2 separate regions of the Homo sapiens genome follow, and region 1 is linked to region 2. The links are contacts of gene promoters, found by promoter capture Hi-C in human tissues and cell types (Jung and others, 2019). All regions are on one chromosome and are shown on one strand. The core of a region is centred on a gene start or on the middle of the fragment in contact, and the rest is flanking DNA. Distances in the headings are between cores, read along the strand shown.

What was found. Contacts are between HindIII fragments. The study calls those that stand out against the background at their distance.
Region 1: a fragment that was not itself captured here is called in contact with the fragment with the promoter of DCST2 in region 2 in 1 of the 25 tissues and cell types used here (dorsolateral prefrontal cortex).

Annotation. Positions count from the first base shown.
Region 1 is chr1:153,915,216-153,919,472 of GRCh38, reverse strand. The region is part of intron 1 of GATAD2B (GATA zinc finger domain containing 2B); the gene reads left to right. Among named protein-coding and RNA genes, the nearest start is that of GATAD2B, 5.6 kb to the left of the region's middle. The HindIII fragment of the contact is 5,978 bases long and covers 1-4,257 here.
Region 2 is chr1:155,031,503-155,035,250 of GRCh38, reverse strand. DCST2 (DC-STAMP domain containing 2) reads left to right here and starts at 1,470. Exons shown (of 15, transcript NM_144622.3): 1 at 1,470-1,817; 2 at 1,987-2,157; 3 at 2,483-2,584; 4 at 3,480-3,677. The coding sequence starts at 1,550. DCST1 (DC-STAMP domain containing 1) reads right to left here and starts at 1,427. Exons shown (of 17, transcript NM_152494.4): 1 at 1,397-1,427; 2 at 1,154-1,279; 3 at 691-816; 4 at 524-598. The coding sequence starts at 1,214. The HindIII fragment of the contact is 8,066 bases long and covers 1-3,748 here.

The DNA of each region.
Region 1 (4,257 bases), core at 361-2,860, 1.1 Mb after region 2:
TGAAGAATAGGTCTGATTTGAAACAGACCCCTCCTCATGTTCCATCTTTTACCTTCTCCCTTGTGGATATATGAAATATTCCTGTATAGCTTGAATTCATCCAGTAAGAAGGGAGTGTCCCAGGGTCATTAGGGCTTTTAACCTGTCTGAGGTATTTAGATGGTGGCTTGGTAATGTTTGCTGTCTCTCACAAAATCCCCCTTACCTTTGCCATTTACCTAGGTTGCCATCAGCTGGCAAGAAACTATCAACAGTTTTGGGTTATAGTACAAAAAGCAGCAGATTACTAAGAACACATCATTCGTTACTTTTGAGATATGAAGTGGTCAGATCCAGACCTCAAAGAATCATAGTAACTGCAGAAGCATCTTTGACAATGTGTGAACTTGTTATTAATAATAACTAGTAAACTGCTAAAGAAATTAAGGGAAATTATAGCAATTCCATATTCCTGAGCCATTCTCTTACTGTTTTTCACACCTGGCTAGTTCCATTTTATTTTATTTTATTTTATATTTTTTGAGATGGAGTTTTGCTCTTGTTGCCCAGGCTGGAGTGCAGTGGTGTGATCTCAGCTCAGTGCAACCTCTGCCTCCTGGGTTCAAGTGATTCTCCTGCCTCAACCTCCCAAGTAGCTGGGATTACAGTCACCTGTCACCATGCCTGGCTAATTTTTGTATTTTTAGTAGAGACGGTTTCACCATGTTGGCCAGGCTGGTCTCGAACTCCTGACCTCAGGTGATCTGCCCACCTCAGCCTCCCAAAGTGCTGGGATTACAGGCATGGAGCCATTGTGCCCGGCCTTAGTATCCATTTAAAAAAATAATTCAGGTTACTGTTACCTAAAGCTGAGAGTCGTACTTTAAATCTTTTGATCAAAGCTTTCTTCGGCTTGTCTCATTTCAAGGGAGGGTGGAATTTATAATCTTTAAAAATACATGCTGGAATGTTAGTAGGATTTAGATTAGACACCAGGATTAATAAATTCTCATTATAATTGTGAAGGATTGCAAATGTTAACTGAAAGACTTGTGCATCTCTTGCCCAGAGGATTTTTATAATGTTAGCATTTTTAGAGTATTTAAACTCAAACTTGCTGAAAGAGAGGGGATGAACTAATATGTGGCAGATTGGACTAGTGGAACACAGGTTGTGGAGAGCCTTGAAGTCCTGGGTTGAATTCTAGCTTTGTGATTTATTAGCTAACTGATTTTGGGTAATGCTACTAATTTTTGAATTCTCATTTCTTGCAGACAGAGTAATGCCAGTCCTTGCAATAGCCTTTAAGGCTTTACATGGTTTGCCCTCCCCAACCTCTTCCATTTTTGATCGGCTGTCATCTTCCCTCTTGCTCTCTCCATTCCAGCCACACTGACTTGCTCCTTGAATGCTGATCAGTCACACTCTATCTTAGAACCTTGGCAGGTTCCTAAGACCAAGTGATTCCTTCTAGTGGGAAAACAGCTAGGTTTCCCCACAGAGAATGGCTGATTGCCTCACCTCCTTAACGTCTTTGCTTAAATGTCACCTTTTTAATGAAGTCTTATCCTTCCTTTCTTTAAAATTGTATTGTCAGTTCCCATCCCTCATGCTTATCCTTGCCTGCTCTATTTTCTTTTTCATAGGACTTAACACTTTTATAATATATTTATTTGTTACATTTATTGCCTATTGGTTCTCTTTCTATGATGTAGGTCTTAGAAGGCATGGATTTGTTTTGGTAATTTGTTTAGTGCCTAGTACAGTGCCTGGCATGTAGTTAATAATAAATGTTTGTTGGCCGGGGTTGGTGGCTCATGCCTGTAATCCCAGCACTTTGGGAGGCTGAGGCGGGCGGATCACATGAGGTCAGGAGTTCGAGACCAGCCTAGCCAACATGGTGAAACCCCGTGTCTACTAAAAATACAAAAATTAGCTGGGCGTGGCAGTGGGCACCTGTAATCCCAGCTACTTGAGAGGCCGAGGCAGGAGAATAGCTTGAACCTGGGAGGTGGAGGTTGCAGTGAGTCGAGATTGCACCATTGCACTCCAGCCTGGGTGATAGCGTGAGACTCAGTTTCAAAAAAAAAAAAAGATATGTGGGGCATGGTGGCTCACACCTGAAATCCCAGCACTTTGGGAGGCCGAGGCGGGTGTATCATGAGGTCAGGAGTTCAAGACCAGCCTGGCCGAGATGGTGAAACCCCATCTCTACTAAAAATACAAAAATTAGCCAGACATGGTGGCAGTTGCCTGTAATCCCAGCTACTCGGGAGGCTGAGGCAGAGAATTGCTTGAACCCAGGAGGTGGAGGTTGCAGTGAGCTGAGATCGTGCCATTGCACTCCAGCCTGGGTGACAGCGTGTGACTCAGTTTCAAAAAAAAATAGGCCGGGTGCGGGGGCTCACACCTGTATTCCTAGTACTTTGGGAGGCCGAGGGGGGTAGATCACGAGGTCAGGAGTTCAAGACCCGCCTGGCCAAAATGGTGAAACCCCATCTCTACTAATAATACAAAAATTAGCCAGACATGGTGGTGGGCGCCTGTAATCCCAGCTACTCGGGGGGCTGAGGCAGAGAATAGCTTGAACCCGGGAGGCAGAGGTTGCAGTGAGCCGAGATTGTGCCACTGTGCTCTAGCCTGGTCAACAGAGTGAGACTCTCTCTCAAAAATAAATAAATAAACAAATAAAAGTTTGTTGATCCAATAGGAATAAAAATAACCTGTCATACTAATCTCATGTTTGTATGTAACAAAAGTATGAAATACAAGCATAAAATGTTTTGTGAACTTTAAAGCATAATGCAAATAATGATGAAATTATTGCCTTCCCGTTAAAATGGTAAAATACACTTGATTATTGAAAAAAACTTCATATATATTCAATATATTATCATTTCTCTCCTAAACTCCAGCCCTTTGTTTCCGGTTGTCTACTGTGAGCTAGACGTATCTATACCTTTGTATCAAGTTGGTACTCAAACTCAACATTTCCAACATCATTTCTTCCCTGTGATTCATTGAGTCATCTAAACCAGAAATGTGAGCATCATTGTCACTTCTGTCTTACCTATTACTTTCTAAATATTTCTGAATCTAGCTTCTTCTGTGTCTCCATTGCTGTTCTCATTCAACAGCTCTTATTTTGGGATATTGCCTTGATCGCTTACACATCTGTTTATAGTCTTACTCTCTTTTTCTTTTTTTTTTTTTTTTCTTGAGGTGGAGTCTCACTCTGTCACTGGAGTGCAGTGGTGCAATCTTAGCTTACTGCAACCTCCACCTCCTGGGTTCAAGTGATTGTTCTGCTTCAGCCTCCTGAGTAGCTGGGATTACAGGTGTCTGCCACTACACCCAGATAATTTTTGTATTTTTAGTGGAGACGAGGTTTCACCATGTTGCCCCAGGCTGGTCTCAAACTCCTGACCTCAAGTGATCCGCCCACCTGGGCCTCCCAAAGTACTGGGATTACAGGCGTGAGCCACCGCACCCGGCTGTCTTATTCTCTTGTAAACTCTCTATCATCGTGCCTTCAAAATAGTCTAACACTTACTGATTATTCTACTTTCCTCATCTTAAAAGTATTTAGTAGTTTCCAGTTATTAAAAGATTAAAATGTAAACTTTGAGTGGTATTCAAGGCCCTTTATGTTGTTGGTGTTTGCCTTCCTATCCAGCCCTACTTCTGTACCTTATAGTTAATGTGTGAGCAAATACAGTGGTTTTTCTTTTCTTTTTTTTTTTTTTTTTTTTATATAGACAAGTTCTGGCTCTGTTGCCCAGGCTCCATGGAGCACAGTGGCACGATCTCGGCTCACTGCAACCTCCACCTCCTGAGTTCAAGTGATCCTCTTACCTCAGCCTCCTCAGTAGCTGGGTCTATAGGCCTGTGCCACTTTGCCCAGCTAATTTTTGAAATACAGTTCTTTTTAATTACAGGTAGCTTCTGAATCTCATAAAGAATGCCACTTCTTCTGGGAAACCTTCCCTGACTTGCCCAAAGAGAGTTAGATACATTTTCTTCTTTGCCCTCATAATTTTTATTAAGTTTATTTTTATTTATTTATTTTTTGGGATAGAGTCTCGCTCTGTCACCCAGGCTGGAGTGCAATGGTGCAGTCTTGGCTCACTGCAACCTCCGCCTCCCAGGTTCAAGTGATTCTCCTGCCGCAGCCTCCTGAGTAGCTGGGACTACAAGCATGCCACCGCGCCCAGCTAATTTTTGTATTTTTAGTAGAAACGGGGTTTCACCACGTTGGCCAGGCTGGTCTTGATCTCT
Region 2 (3,748 bases), core at 221-2,720:
GTGGAGGTTGCAGTGAGCTGAGATTGAGCCACTGCACTCCAGCCTGGGCAACAGAGCGAGACTCCGTCTCAAAACGAAAACAAAAACATACAAACAAAACCAAAGCAAAACGGCTGGATGCTTGTCATCCTTGTTTACTGCTAAATCCTCAGCAGATTCTCAGTAAGTGCTGAGTGAATGAATGAATGAATGAATGAATTTAATTTCTTAGGAGGATCAGAAAACGAGGTCAGACAGGTCAGGAGAGATGAGAGTTATGAAGGGTTATGGGGTTGGACTATATCATGTGGGTGATGGGGAGTCCCTCGGAATGGAGAGACTCCCTCAGGGCAAGGACGGTGTCTTCCTTCTTAAATTGGCAGCCTCTTCCCTCTGGACCTCCCCGTAAAGCCCAGGAGGAGGCGGAAGCCACAGGGGATGTATGGGTACAGAAGAAACAAGTCCCGACTCCTTCCTGGGCATGCAGGACGGCGCTGTGTTCCACAGGCCGCTTGAGTGTTCCTGGCTTTTGCCCAGCACTAACCCACCAAGCTGTACAAGAACATAATCTTCTGTTCTTCGTAGATGTTCATGGGGTTCACCAGGAGCTGAAAGAGACCTAAGGGCACAAGGTCAAGCCAAAGGCCAAAAGATGGGTCCTAGCCCTGGTCCAGCCTCTGCCCACCCCGAACTTTCTGCTTCCACACTCACCTATGGCCAGGAGCCCCCCAGCGCCTGCCCCCAGCAGGAGAGCAGTGACAGGAAACTCGCCCGGCTGGCGCCACAGGAACCAGCTACAGGAGACTGGCAGCCCCCAGGTCAGGAGCCTCTGCACCGCTAAGAGGGGGACAGGGTAGCTCAACAGCCCACTCTTCTGCCTGGGATGGGGCTCATTAGGATTCAGGGCTTGCAGGTGGATAGAGGCTGGGGAAACCTGGCATGTGAAACAGTAGGAACTTAGGGGACCCTGGAGGAGGATGAGGGAGCCTGAGGAAGTGGTATGGGTGTAAGGGACAGCAAAGGCAAGGGCTGGGCTGGGAGGCGGGAGGCACTAGACCAGAGAGGTGGTGGAGGCGCGGACACCGAGTTGGGGGATAGTGTGCAGGAGTTCCAGGAGGAGAGATGGGATGAGAGTGGAGGTCAAGGGATACTGGGTCTCTGCTGAGTGACTCACTGGTATGAGGCTGTTTTCTTCTTTGCCCTCTTGTGCCATTCTGATGATGTTTAATGTCCATGAGTCTGTTTTGGGGAAGCACCACTCATCCCAGGTCTCCTGAAGGACCTCCTTGGACACAAGGTTCTGGTGAGAGAAGAGAGGTGCTGCCTGTCTCTTCCGCTTCATGGGAAGCCTAGGCCTGAGCTCTGGGCCTTTTAATCCTTCTGCTCCGAGAAGTGGGGAAGGAGATTAGAGACCTACCTATCCCCTCTCCAGTCCTCGGAACTGGGTCAAGGATTCCAAGACATATGCAGTGAAAGCCCTTTGGAACCTTAGAATACGGTGAGAAATTCCAGGAGCACAGAAGTCAGCGGGCATCTCCTGGAGACAGGCAGACATTTGGTCTCAGCAGCCATGCCCAAAGTCATGAAGGATGTTGTGCACCCCTTGGGGGGAGAGGAGCCTAGCATGGCGAGAGCTGTGGTTCGCAGCGTGGGAGGTTTTACCCTGGGCTTGTCTTTAGCCACGGCCTACGGGCTTCTGGAGCTACTGGTGGAAGGCCACAGCCCCTGGGGTTGCCTGGTGGGCACCCTCACTTTGGCTGCCTTCCTTAGCCTGGGCATGGGATTCTCTCGCCAGGTCCGAGCCACTGTCCTCCTGCTGCTGCCTCAGGCCTTCTCCAGTGAGCTTGGCACCCAGGGCTAGGGGGCAGGTCCTGGGGCTGGTGCTGGGGCAGAAGAGATGCTGGAGGAGAGGCAGGGGTTAAGGGAAATATTCTGAAGGCTTATGTAAGGGACTTGCTGCCATGTTTGGGGCTGGGGTCTTGGTTCTAACAAAGCTGTCGCCCCCAGGGCAGGGCCGGACACTACTGTTGGTGGCTGCTTTTGGGTTGGTGCTTCAAGGGCCTTGTGCCAACACTCTACGCAACTTCACCCGGGCCAGCGAGGCTGTAGCCTGTGGGGCAGAGCTGGCCCTGAACCAGACCGCCGAAGTGCTACAGAGGGCCAAGCAACCTCTTGTCAGTAAGTCCCCCACCTCTACCACTGTCTCCCACGGGCCCCCCTCGCCCCCCTCATCCTGCATGTTCTACAGTCCTTTGGCCTCCTTCTCTGCTGGTGCTAATCGCGGAGCATCTGGGCCTGGAAGGGACTCTGGGCACAGCTAAACCCTCTCTCCTTGCTCTCTGGCCTCCTCCACTCCCAGATTAACGATCTCCCAGGCCCCAGAATCCAGGCTTCCCGCCTCTGGAAATGGTGGCCTCCTCTCTACTCCCTGCTTAAGGGGCAATGGTGAGAACCAGCCCCTAGAGGAGAAGACTCCAAAGTGCCTCTGTCCCTCACCCATCAGGTGCCCTGAACAAGATTAAAGCTATTGCCCGGAAGACCAAAGAGGTGGCTGACCGGGTCCGCAAGTTCTTTCGGTCAATCATGGATGGTGTGAAACACATAGGTAAGCACATTAGCATGTCTATCCCGGGGACTCAAAATGCACCCAGTCCTGGCCGGGTGCGGTGGCTCATGCCTGTAATCCCAGCACTTTGCGAGGCCGAGGTGGGAGAATCACTTGAGCCCAGGAGTTTGAGACCAGCCTTGGCAACATGGCGAGACCCTGTCTCTATAAAAAATAAAAAAATAGAAAATAAATAAAACTAGCCAGATGTAATGACACATGTCTGTAGTCCCAGCTACTGGGGAGGCTATGGTGGAAGGATCTCTTGAACCCAGGGGTTTGAGGCTGCAGTGAGCTATGATCGTGCCACTGTACTCCAATCCAGCCTGGGTGACAGTGTGAGACTCCATCTCTAAAGAAAAAAAAAAGCGGGGGGGCCAGGTGCGGTGGCTCACACCTGTAATCCCAGCACTTTGGGAGGCTGAGGCGGTGGATCAGGAGGTCAGGAGATCAAGACCATCCTGGCTGACATCGTGAAACCCCGTCTCTACTAAAAATACAAAAAGTTAGCCGGGCGTGGTGGCACGCAGCTGTAGTCCCAGCTACTCAGGAGGCTGAGGCAGGAGAATCTCTTGAACCCAGGAGGCGGAGGTTGCAATGAGCCGAGATCACTCCACTGCACTCTAGCCTGGGCAACAAGAGCGAAACTCCATCTCAAAACAAAACAAAACAAAACAAACAAACAGAAACAAAAAAATTCAGTCTCCTCACCTGTACCCTGTCCAGGGTTTTTTGGGCCCCTTCTGGGCGCTGGCTAGTGTTCACTGGACACAGCACAGCCAGGTCCCTGACCACAGGCCTCTCCAGCCCTGGATACTGTGGTATTGTTCCCCAAAACCCTGAGAAGAGGCTGTAGGATTCCAGCCCTGGGTGCCAACCCTGCAGCTGTCCCCAGCCAGGGCTCTCCGGAATGTGTGGCAGTGGCTCCTGCACATCGGCGATGTGTGCAACTCGGAACTGGGCAACCCTTACCTGAAGTGTGCACGGGTTTTCGATGATGCCAAGGACAGCTGCATGATGGTCATACCACAAGCCTACCACCTGTGTTACGTGCTCATGCCCTTCAAACTGGCGCTCTGTGGACTTGCCAGCCGTGAGAAAACCAGGGTCTGCCAGCGGGGAGGAGCCGATGTGGGGTGGGGTGGGGTGGGAATGTGGGGGTCA